2 separate regions of the Homo sapiens genome follow, and region 1 is linked to region 2. The links are contacts of gene promoters, found by promoter capture Hi-C in blood cells and fetal thymus (Javierre and others, 2016). All regions are on one chromosome and are shown on one strand. The core of a region is centred on a gene start or on the middle of the fragment in contact, and the rest is flanking DNA. Distances in the headings are between cores, read along the strand shown.

Evidence for each region. The method cuts DNA at HindIII sites, captures the fragments that hold promoters and counts their contacts. A CHiCAGO score of 5 or more calls a contact.
Region 1: a contact is called between a fragment that was not itself captured here and the fragment with the promoter of OR4A15 in region 2, in 4 of 17 cell types (M2 macrophages, erythroblasts, fetal thymus and 1 more). The highest score is 7.9, in M2 macrophages.

What each region holds. Positions count from the first base shown.
Region 1 is chr11:54,748,319-54,754,969 of GRCh38, reverse strand. No RefSeq gene overlaps it. Among named protein-coding and RNA genes, the nearest start is that of OR4A5, 45 kb to the right of the region's middle. The HindIII fragment of the contact is 844 bases long and covers 1,717-2,560 here.
Region 2 is chr11:55,363,512-55,370,158 of GRCh38, reverse strand. OR4A15 (olfactory receptor family 4 subfamily A member 15) reads right to left here and starts at 2,185. Exons shown (of 1, transcript NM_001005275.2): 1 at 1,241-2,185. The coding sequence starts at 2,185. The coding sequence ends at 1,241. The HindIII fragment of the contact is 3,478 bases long and covers 1,488-4,965 here.

The DNA of each region.
Region 1 (6,651 bases), core at 889-3,388, 620 kb after region 2:
CTTTCTACTTTTTATCAGAAGATATTTACTTTTTCACCATAGGCCTTGAGACACTCCAAAATATCCTTTCACAGAATTTAAAAATCAGTGTTTCCAAACTACTGAGTCAAAAGAAAGATTTAACTCTGTGAGATGAATAAACACGTCACAAAGGAGTTTCTCACATAGATTCCTTCTAGTTTTTATCTTTGGATATTCATTTTTTTGCATTGGATCCAATTAGCTCCCAAATATCCATTTGCAGAATGTACAAAAACAGTGTTTCCAAATTCCGGAATCAAAACAAAGTTTGAACTGTGAGAGATGAATGCACACATCACAAAGCAGTTTCTCAGAAAGCTTCTTTCTAGTTTTTATCTGATGATATTTTCTTTTTCACCATAGGCCTCAGCTGGCTCCCTAGTGTCCTTTCACAGATTCTAGAAAAGCAGTGTTTCCAAACAGCTGAATCAAGAGAAAAGTTGAACTCTGTGATATGAATGCACACATCATAAACTGGTTTCTTGGATAGCTTCCTTCTACTTTTCACCCTGCAATATTCGCTTTTTTGACTTTGGCCTCAAAGAGCTCACAAATGTCCATTTGCAGATTCTACAAACACAATGTTTCCAATGTGTGGAATCAGGAGAAAGGTTTAACACTGTGAGATAAATGCACACATCATGAAGCAGTTTCTCAGAAAGCTTCTTTCTACTTTTTATCTGAAGATTTTTCTTTTTCAAGATAGGCCTCAATGGGCTCCCAATTGTCCATTCACAGATTCTTCAAAAACACTGTTTCCAAATTGCTGAATCAAAACCAAGTTTAACCCTGTGACATAAATGCACACATCACAAAGCAGTTTCTCAGAAACTTCTTTCAAGTTTTTATCTGAAGGTATTTTCTTTTTCACCATAGGCCTCACTGTGCTCCAAATGTCCTTTTCAGATTCTACAGCAAAGTTTTTCCAAACTTCTGAATCAAAAGAAAGGTTTACCTCTGTGAGATGAATGCACATATCACAAAGCAGTTTCTCAGAAAGCTTCTTTCTAATTTTTCTCAGAAAATATTTTCTTTTTCACCATAGGCTTCAATGCTCTCAAAGATGTCCAATTGAAGAATGTACAAAACACCATTTCCAAACTGCAGAATCAAAAGGAAGGTTTAACTCTGTGAGATGAATGCACATATCAGAAATTGGTTTCTCAGAAAGCTCCTTTCTAGTTTTTATCTGAGGATATATGTTTTTTGACAATAGTCTTCAATGTGCTCCCAAATATCCCTTCACATATTCCACAAAAACAGTGTTTCCAACCTGCTGAATAAACAGAAAGTTTTATCTGTGTGAGTTTAATGCACACGTCACAAAGCAGTTCCTCAGAAAGCTTCTTTCTAGTTTTTATCTGAAGACATTTTCTTTTTCACCACAGGCCTCAATGAGCTCCCAAATATTCCTTTGCAGTTTCTAAAAAACAGTGTTTCCAAATGACTGAATGAAAAGAAAAGTTTGTCTCTATGAGATGAATGGACATATCACAAAGCCTTGTCTCAGATAGCTTCCTTCAACTTTTTATCCTGAGATATTCACTTTTTCATCATTGGCCTCTAAGAGCTCCCAAATATCCATTCCCAAAATGGACAAAAACAGTGCTTCCAAACTGCTGAATCAAAAGAAAGTTTTAACTCTGTGAGATGAATGCACACATCAAAAAGCATTTTCTCTGAAAGCTTCTTTCAAGCTTTTTTCTGAAGATATTTTCATTTTTACCATAGGTCTCAATGTGCTCCCAAACATACCTTTGCAGATTGTAGAAAAACAGTTCATTCCAAATTGCTGAGTCAAAAGAAAGTTTAACTGTGTGATTTGAATGCACACTTCACAAAGCAGTTACTCAGAAAGCCTCTTTCTTCTTTTAAAAGAAGGTATTTTTTTGCACCATGGGCCTCAAGGGGCTACCAAGTGTCCATTCACACAAAGTACAAAAACTGTGTTTCCAAACTGCTTAATCAAAAGAAAGGTTTAAATCTGCAAGATGAAGTCACACATCACAAATGGTTTCTCAGATAGTTTCCTTCTAGTTTATATCTCGGGATATTTGCTTTTTTGCCTTTGGCCTCAATGAGCTCCCAAATATCCATTCACAGAATGGACAAAAACAGTGGTTCTTAAACTGCTGAATGAAAAGAAAGGCTTAATTCTGTGAGATGAATGCACACAACACAAACAGTTTTTCAGAGAGCTTCTTTCTAGTTATTATCAGAGGACATTTTCTTTTTCACAACAGGCCACAATGCATTCCCAAATATCCCTTCGCAGATTCTACAAAAACAATGTTTCCAAACAGCTGAATGAAAAGAGAAGTTTAACTTTGTGAGATGAATGCAGATATCACAAAGCAGTTTCTCAGATAGCTTTATTTCGTTTTCATCTTGGCATATTCACTTTTTTGCCATTGGCCTCCATCAGCTCCCAAATGTCCACTCACAGAATGGACAAAAACAGTGTTTTCAAACTGCTGAACCAAAAGAAATGTTTAACTCTGTGAGATGAATACAAACGTCACAGAACAGTTTCTCAGAAAGCTTCTTTCTAGTTTTTATCTGAATATCCCTTCTCAGATTCAACAAAAGCAGTGTTTCCAACCTGCTGATTCAAAAGAAAAGTTTAACTGTACGTGATGAATGCACAGATCACAAAGCAGATTCACAGACAGCTTCCTGCCAGTTTTTTTCCTGACATATGTGCTTTTTTGCCATTGGCCTCAATGAGCTCTGAAAAGTACATTTGCAGAATGGACAAAAACAGTGTTTCGAAATTGCTAAATCAATAAAAGGTTTAACTTTGTGAGATTAATGCACCCATCACAAAGCAGTTTCTCAGAAAGCTTCTTTCTATGTTTTATCTGAAGATATTTTCTTTTTTACCATATGCCTCGACGTGCTCTCAAATATCCCTTCACAGGTTCTACAAAAACAGTGTTTCCAAACTGCTGAATGAAAAGAATGATTTAACTCTGACAGGTGAATGCATACATCTCAAAGGAGTTTCTCAGATAGTTTCATTCTAGTTTTTATCTGAAGATATTTTCCTTTTACACGATAGGCCTCCAGCACTCCAAAGTGTTCGTTGGTAGAATGGAGAAAAACAGTGTTTCCAAACTGCTGAATCAAAGGAAGGTTTAACTGTGAGATGAATGTACACATCACAAAGCCGTTTTTCTAGTATTTACATGAAGATATTTTCTTTTTCACCAAAGGCCTCAATGCCCTCCCAAATATTGCTTTGCAGATTGCACAAAAACAGTGTTTCCAAACTGCTGAATGAAAACAAAGGTTTACCTGTGTGAGCTGAACGCACACAGCACAAAACAGTTTATCAGAAAGCTGATTCCTCCTTTTAATCTGAAGATTTTTTTTCACCATATGCCTCAATACGCACCCAAAAGTCCATTTGTAGATCCTACAGAAACAGCGGTTCCCAATTGCTGAATCAAAAGAAAGTTTTAACTCTGTGAGATTAATGCACACATCATAAAGTGGTTTCTCAGATAGCTTCCTCCTAGTTTATACCTCGGGATATTCACTTTTTTGCCATTGGTCTCAATGAGCTCCCAAATACCCATTCACAGAATGGACAAAAACAGTGTTTCCAAACTGCTGAATCAAAGGAAAAGTTTAGCACTCTGAGATGAATGCACACATAACAAAGCAGATTATCAGAAAGCTTCATTCTTGTTTTCATTGGAAGATATTTCCTTTTTCACCACAGGCATCAATATGCTCCCAAATGTACATTTGAAGATTCTACACAAACATTGTTTCCCACCTGCTGAATCAAAAGAATGGTTTAACTTTGTGAGATGAACGCAAACATCACAAAGCTGTTTCACAGATAGATTCATTCTACTTAATACAGGGATATTCCCTTTTACACCGTTGACCTCAATGAGTTCTCAAATATCCCTTCAGAGAATCTTCAAAAACAGTGTTTCCAAACTGCAGAAAGAAAAGAAAGTTTTAACTCTGTGAGAAGAATGCACACATCCAAAAGTAGTTTATCAGATACCTTCCTTCTAGTTTTTAATCCTGGGATAATTGCATTTCTGACATTGGCCTCAAACAGCTCCCAATGTCCATTCTCAGAATGGACAAAAACAGTGTTTCCAAACTGTTGAATCAAAAGAAAGATTTACCTTGTGAGATCAATGCACACATCACAAAGCAGTTTCTCAAAAAGCTTCTTTCTTGTTTTTATCTGAAGATATTTTCCTTTTTACCCTAGGCCTCAATGTGGTCCAAAATATCCCTTCTCATATTTTACAAAAACAGTGTTTTCAAACTGCTTAGTGAAAAGAAACGTCTCTCTCTGTGAGATGAATGCACACATCACAAAGCATTTTCTCAGATAGCTGCCTCAGAATTTTTTTCCTCGAATATTCGCTTTTTTGCCATTGGCCTCAATGAGCTCCCAAATGTCCATTCACAGAATGGAAAAAAACATTGTTTCCAAGCTGCTGAATCAAAAGTAAGGTTTAACTCTGTGAGATGAATGCACACATCACAAAGCATTTTCTCAGAAAGCTTCTTTCTAGTTTTTATATTAAGGAATTTCCTTTTTCACCATAGGCCTCAATATGCTCCCGAATATCACTTTGAAGATTCTACAAATACCGTGTTTCCAAACTGCTGAAAGAAAAGAAAGGTTTACTTATGTTAGATGAATGCACACATCACAAGCAGTTTCTCAGATAGCTTTTTTCTATTTTTTATCAGAAGATACTTTCTTTTTCACCATAGGCCTCAATGTGCTCCCAAATATCCCTTCACAGATTCTACAAAATCAGTGTTTCCAAACTGCTGAATGAAAAGACAGGTTTAACTCTGTGACGTGAATACACACATCACAAAGAAGTTTTACAGATAGCTTCCTTCTAGTTTTTATCCTGGGATATTCACTTTTTTGCCATTGGCCTCAATGAGCTCCCAAATGTCCATTAGCAGGAAGGAAAAAAATAGTGTTTACTAACTGCTGAATCAAAAGAAAGGTGTACAACTGTGAGATAAATGCTAAAATCACAAAGCAGTTTCACAGAAAGCTTCTTTCCAGTTTTTATCTGAAGATATTTTCTTTCTCAAAAAAGGCCTCAATGGGCTAAAAAAAAAAGGCCCATTGGTATATTCTAAAAAACAGTGTTTCCAAACTGCTTAATCAAAAGAAAGTCTATCTCTGCAAGATGAATGCACATATCACAAAGCAATTTCTGAGATAGCTTCCTTCTGTTTTTATCCTGGGATATTCTCTTTTTCAACTTTGGCTTCAATGAGCTAATTAATGCCAATTCACAGATTCTACAAACACAGTGTTTCCAATGTGCTGAATCAAAAGGAAGATTTAGCACTGTGTGATGAATGTACACATCAAAAAGCAATTTCTCAGAAAGCTTCTTTATAGTTTTATCTGAAGGTATTTTCTTTTTCATCATAGGCCTCAATGAGCTCCCAAATGTCCATTTGCAGAACGTACAAAAACAGTTTTTCCAAACTACTGAATCAAAACAAAGGTTGAACACTGTGACATGAATACACACATCACAAAGCAGTTTTTCTGAAATTTCTTTCTGGTTTTTACCTGAAGATATTTTCTTTTTCACCATATGCCTCAATGTGGTCCCAAATTTCCTTTCACAGATTCTACAGAAACAGTGTTTCCAAACTGCTGAATCTAAAGAAACTTTTAACTCTGTGAGATGAATGCACAAAGTGGTTTCTCTGAGAGCTTCCTTCTAGTTTTTACCATGGGATATTTACTTCTTCAGCATTGACCCCAATAGCTCCCAAATATCCATTCGCAGCATGCACAAAAATTGTGTTCCCTAACTGAAGAATCAAAACATGGTTTAACACTGTGCAATGAATGCACACATCACAAAGCACTTTATCAGAAATCTTCTTTCTACTTTTTGTCTGAAGATATTTTATTTTTCACTGTAGGACTCAACAAGCTCCAAAATGTCCATTCCCAGAATGTACCAAAACAGGGTTTCCTACCTGCTGAATCAAAAGAAAGGTTTAACTCTGTGAGATCAATGCACACATCACAAAGTGGTTTCTCAGATAGTATCCTTCTAGTTTTTATCCTGGGATATTTGCTTTTTCACCTTTGGCCTAAATGAGCCCCCAAATGCCAATTTGCAGAATACACAAAATCAGTGTTTCCAAACTACTGAATCAAAAGAGTGTTTTAACTCTGTGAGATGAATGCACACATCACAAAGCAGTTACTCACAAAGCTTCTTTCTGGTTTGTATCTGAAGATATTTTCTTTTTCATCATAGGCATCTACACGTGCCTATGATCTTATCTGAAGAAAAGATCTTCAGATAAAAACTAGAAAAAAGCTTTGTGAGAAACTGCTTTGTGACGTGTGCATTCATCTCACAGGGTTAAACCTTTCTTTTGATTCAGCAGTTTGGAAACACTGTTTTTGTTCTTTCAACGAATGGACATTTGGGAGCTCATTGAAGCCAAAGGCAAAAAAGTGAATAGCCCAGGATAAAAACTAGAAGGAAGCTATCTGAGAAACTGCTTTGTTATGTGTGCATTCACCTCGCAGAGTTAAACCTTTCTTTTAATGCAGCAGTTTGCAAACACCGTTTTTGCAGAATCTGTGAA
Region 2 (6,647 bases), core at 936-3,435:
CTGGAAGCATTAATATTGCTAAGTGCATTAAGTACATCTATTATAAACTGAGGAAAGGAAAAAGAAAAAAATACCAACTTTTTACCTTAATAAAGATGGTGTAGGTTGACTTCAACAAGGCAATATGTTATGCCATAGCCATTAAAAATTATCTTTGTAATACCGTATTAGTTCTCTAAACCCACTGTAGAGCAACTCTAAACAAAGAAGACACCTTTGATGTATCACTTTGTATCACTTCAGTCAATGAGATCATATAGTTCACAGAGATTCTGAAAGCTACTTATTGTGTAAAGCAAAACAATCCGTTTGAAAAATGTTTGACATTCATTGTGTGTGTGCGTGTTTTTAAAGTGCACCCAGAGAGTTTAATGTGGGTAGATTCTGTGGAATCTACTGTTATATATGAGTGGCTTAAGCACCTATTTCAGCTATTGGGGGAGGTCAATTGATCTAGGTATACAGAATGAGATTAAACAATTTTTCTGTTCAAAAACTGGTCAAATTATACAAAAACAACTATATGCTATCTGGACATCCTAACTCCATCACAGTATGAAATTAACAAAGTTTATTTCTCATTGATTTATCCTCAGCTATCAACATATCTATGAAACTTTAAATTCATTAATTTCACCAAGACATTTATTTGTACTGTTAGATTAACATTCTTTTAACAATCTAAATTTTCACGTTTAATATATCATTCTCTTGGATGAAAGGGAACAAATTTTCTTAGATCACATTTATATGTGCCAGGAAGATATCACAGACCATAAAGAAGAATAGATTTTTGATGTTACCACACACAAAAAATCAATGTTGGGGAGGTGACAGATATATTCATTAGACTGATGAAATCTTTCTATAATGTATACATAGATCAGAACATCACATTGTACTCCATAAATATACCCAATTATTGACAATTTAAAATACATAAAAAAGAAAAATAAATAAATGATTTTTAAATAAAAAAGAGCTTGAAATAAAACTAAATATTGTTATCAACCAAAGAATCTTAACACAGTATGATTACAAAAACAGTACACACTGTTAAACCTATGCAATTTTCTTGGTCTGTAATGGGTGTAACATATTACACCTAGACAAATATTAATTTATATGACTGCTTCAGAATAAGTAAGCTAAAAAACTAAAAGGAAATGATAACAGAAATGTAATCAGATAGGATAGTGAAATTGTTCCTTGCTTCTGTGAAAGAATGAATGTCACATTCTCATGAGTGATACAGCCATTTCCCAGCTAAGCTTACTTTTTTACTCCAAAGTTTCCTCATGGCACTTTTCATTTCTGCATTCTTCAGGGTATAGATTAGTGGGTTCAGCATGGGAGTTATAAAAGTTAGAACTACAGTCATGGATTTATCAATGGGAAAAGTAGAATTGGGCCTTGCATACAAGAAGATACAGGGGACAAAGAATAAAATGACCACAGTGACGTGGGATGCACAGGTGTAGAAAGCTTTTCGTTTCCCTTCCAAACTCTGAGTCTTAAGAGAGTGTAATATGACCCCATAGGAAAGCAGGATAGTGAAGAAGGTGACAGCACAAATCGCTCCTCCATTAGCTATCATAGAAAGCCCAGTGACATAGGTATTGGTGCAAGCAAGTTTCAATAAGGGATACAAATCACACAGGAAGTTGTCAATGACATTGGGTCCACAGAAAGGGAGCTGATAAATAAAGAGAAATTGAACCAATGAGTGAAGAAAGCCTCCAATCCAGGCCGCCAACAGCATAAGAACACAGACTCGACGATTCATGGTGATCAATTCATGAAGAGGCTTACAGATGGCCATGTATCGATCATAGGCCATTACCACCAGAAGAATGACTTCAGCACCAGCAAATAAATGATCCATAAAAAGTTGAGCCATACAACCCTGAAAGGAAATGGTCTTTTTCTCAGAGAGCAAGTCAACAATCATTTTGGGAGCAAATGCAGTAGAATAGACGGTATCTATGAATGATAAAGAAGCCAGAAAAAAGTACATGGGGGAACCCAGGGACTGGCTGGCCATGATGGTCACTATGATAAGCAGGTTGCCCATTATCGTCACCATGTAGATTAGTAAGAATGTGACAAATAAAACCTTTTGCCCCTCAGGGTTCTGTGTGAGCCCTAAGAGGATAAATTCAGTCACATTGTTCTTATTTTTCATGTGTTCTTCTGAAGGTGTTGGACTCAGGTGTCGGAGCCTACAAACAAAAGGGTCAGTGATAAATTTGAGATTATTTGTCAGAAGCTCCATGTCAAAAATGTGATGCCTTATCGACCACGTTTTCCCTGACCAGGGCCTCACACAGAGCAGCTCATTAGAAAAGAAGTGTTTAGAATATCCTCCCACAATTATCCTTTTCATTTTTACAAATGGGACATGGATGAAGCGGGAAACCATCATTCTCAGCAAACTATCACAAGAACAGAAAACAAAACACTGCATGTTCTCATTCATAAGTGGGAGTTGAACAAGGAGAACACATGGACACAGGGAGGGGAACATCACACACCGGGGCCTGTTGGGGAGTGGGGAGCTAGGGGAGTGATAGCATTAGGAGAAATACGCTATGCAGGTGATGGGTTGATTGGTGCAGCAAATCAGCATGGCACATGTGTACCTATGTAACAAAGCTGCACATTCTGCACATATACTCCAGAACTTAAAGTATAATTTTAAAAAAAGAATTTTAAAAAATACAAATGTATTGCTTTAACTGCAATGATGAGGCTTCATGATTTTAACTGGAAGGTATATGTGAGTGAATATATATGTGAGATAATCTATTACAGATCAAAATAGAGCTGCTTTCTTGAGAACATCCCTTAAAAAGACTGTATTTTTGATATTTATATAGTATTTATCTTTTTTTGAACAGATTTTGTCCTTCCATGATCTATCAAGAAAACAGCCTCATATGTGTTGACTTTACTTATATATTTATGTAAAGTAGTACCCAGTATATGGAGCATAAGATTACAGGCTAATGTTTAGATATTTGCCATTCTGAAACACTGTACTGTGAGCTCCTAGAATCCAGGAATAACTCGCTCAAAGAACCAGACACATTGTGAGTGCTCACTAAATGTTTATTAAATTTTATTAAACCAAATTTCAAAGCTCAGAGAGCAAGTATGTGGAAATAAATGTATTAAAATCTTGCCAGCCATGAAAGTCCAATGAAAGCAAAGTTTTATTTGAAAAGAAACTACACACACACACACACATATACACACACACACACACTGAATTTTCATCTATTACAACGTAGGTCATTAGAGGAAAAAAACAGGTAATACAAATCAAAGTCGGGGGGCAATGCAGAGACATTTTCCCCACTTTTCGCATTTGTTTAAGACTGATCATGGCTAATTACAGATTAATTTGGAATGTCAAAAATAAAGACTCCAGGCAAAATCATGGTGTAGTAGAAATAATTCTATACTAAAAATCTGAAAATATTAGTTGATTTTGAGCTTAGTCATCTCAGGAAAATCACATCCCACCTTATAATTCCTTACTGGAAATGTAATGATCCTTCCAGATAAATGAGTTTCTGGATTCTTATCATTGACACCTGTATCCTAGACAACATGATGACATTTTTGCTGGTAGACCATTTTTATATAAACCAGGTTTAGTATGTGCTAAAGGTTATTTAATTATTAAAGTAATTAATACATAAGGGTTTTTTCATATTATTAGTTCTTGGTTATTGGAATTTATGTCAAATACAAAATATTCATTCTCACTTGAGTAAAATAAATCAAATAATCTGTTGGGCCTTTCAGATGTGATCCAGGCCCAATTTTATGTGTCATATACACAAGTTTGTATTAGCAGGATTATTTTAAATATGCTCTGTGTTAGTGATGATCATTTGTGATAGTCAGGAGATTATTCTATCTATGCATCAAAGCAAGCCAAGACATCTTTAAGGATCAGAGGGAGAGTAAAAGTGTAGACATAAATAAAATAAGAGATAACTTAGTAAAGGCATATGGAAATAAGTAAAGGCCACAAGCTGAATGAAATATTGGTAAGCATTTTGGGTGAGGGAACTGAATTAGTTGAGAGCAGAAGAATATCAGATTCCCAGAGCTGTCAATCAGGAGGTGGCCAGAAAGGTAACTCAGCATCAGTATCAGCACTTGCTTCTAGGAATCTTTATACATTTGGGCCAAAGAAAAATAAGAAAATCAGATTTTAAACTTTAGGGTAGGTCAGTAGGTAAGATTAGCTTCCTTGGAAGTTCTGTCTTTGGGGATTCTGATATTTTGTTGCATATATACATAATTAAATACCTTTACTGGCAATTATGAAACTATTCTGCATTTATAATGGAAATGAGTACTCATAATTTATAGGAGCTATCTGAGCATTCAAGAGAAAACTTCCAGTAGGACAGTCTCTCCTGTTGACATTTTGTACTTATAACACTTATTTGTTTATATCATTTTAAGTACTCAATAGATATTTCACTTATTAAAATGTTCTTAAGAGCATTACTATTATTCTAAACTACCGAAAATTATCACTTTGAATGATTCAAAATTCTGTATTTTATCAATGTATTTTATGAAAAAGTATATATCTGATTGAAACATTTGTAATATTCTTCAAATTTCTTAACATATTCAATGAGAACAAGTAAATCATTAAGAAATACTCAAAAAAGTGAATCTGTGATAGGTATCCCAGAGTAACAATTTTTACAAAATATCAATGAGAACAAGTAAATAATTAAGAAATACTCAAAAAAGTGAATCCATGATAGGTATCCCAGAGTAACAATTTTTACAAAATATAAAAACTTGTATTCTGAAAAGTCTACTTCCTAAGTAAATTTATGCACCTACACATACACCTTATTAGAAACGGTAATTTAGTGTCCATGGAAAAAGAGGTTATAAATTTCATTAGGTACAAGATCTACAGAAGCTTAGGGAAAATGCCAACATCAATTTCTGCCTGTGAGTTAATTATGTGAATATGTCCCTATTTTTAGGGTTTTAAAATTGTAGTGAGTAAAACTGGACACATCATGTTATGTACCCAATTGATCCCCTAATCTATAAAAAGGTACCTCAGATTAAATTAGTTTTAATGATACATGTCAAAGAGCTATGGAGAAAGACAGATGGTGAATTTTCACATGGTGATGTGAATGTTATTTGGGGTATATGCACAAAAGAATAGAAATCAAAGACTGAAACAAATATTTGGACACTGATGTTCAATAGCAGAATTATTCACAGTAGCCAAAAAATGGAAACAACTTGAATGCCCATCAATTAATGAATGAATAAACAAATTGTAGTATATACATACAAGGGGATATTATTCAACCTTAAAAAGCAATGAAATTGTGATAATGCTACAACATTGGTGAACCTTGAAGACATGCTGAGCCGGACACAAAATGACAAATATGTTATGATCTCACTTTTATAAGACACCTAGAATAGTCATATTCACAGACACAGAAAGTACACTGGTGGATACCAGGGGCTAAGGGGAGAGGGTAAGAAAAAATTATTGTTTGATGGGTATGGAGTTTCAGTTTAGGATGATGAAAAGGTTTTGGAGATGGGCAGTGATGATAATTGCACAACAGTGTGTTATGTATATTTCATCACAATAAAAAAAACACAGATAAAAGATCAGCACAGAACCAGAACATTTTAAAATACTATATACAAGGTAAAAAAAATAAAGAACTATAGTAATCCCTACTATTATTATCAATGTATTAAGATATAAGGTAAATAATTGTTGTATTCTCTAAATTACATAAAGCAATCTAAATGAAGCCATTATAAATAATAAATATAATCATGTTATATTGTTACGTTGTACTATGCAATTTCTGTATTTCAATATGTAATTTAACAATTCTAATTAAAAATTTAGAGAACATTATTGCCATTGTACTTATTCTAATAATATTTTATAAAATGAAGAAAATGTGTAAGATGTCTTATTCTTGGAGGTTCTGGCATAAAATGCTGGAGATTAAGTGATAAAACCTACTTCTTAAGAAAGACGCATAACTCATTCAAATAAAATCTATTTTATCCCTATCATAATAGCAGTGAAAAACTTTTTGTAAATTTGTTACCTTGGTTTTCTATCTCCTCCTTGGTCACTTGTTCCAAATCCAGGCTTATGCAGTTTTTTCTTTGGTCCTAGAAGATGACTGCCTAGTTTGTTGAAAATTAGTCAGGATTAAAACCCTGTGAATCCAGGCATGACTGCAAAGAAAAGAAGAGGGCACACGGTCACTAAAGTTGCAAATGCTTTGTCACACAGGGATGTATCTCCTTTTGCCTGAACAAAGAATGATCATCTTCTCCAACTTTCGTAAATATTTTTGTTTGGATTATGGGATTATCCAGAGTTGGTTTTGGGAATAAACAGTTGATATGACTGATGAATCATCAAATTGGAAAGATGTAATTGAGAATGTATATATTAAAATTAAAGAAATTTAAAACCTCCCTATTAAGTTTACTGACCTCATTGGTTGAACGAACCTTTTAAAACATTCTTGGTCAATAGTGCACAAAGATAATCTAGAAACTTGGCTTTGTTTTGAATATTTTAAAAGCACTCATATGTTCAT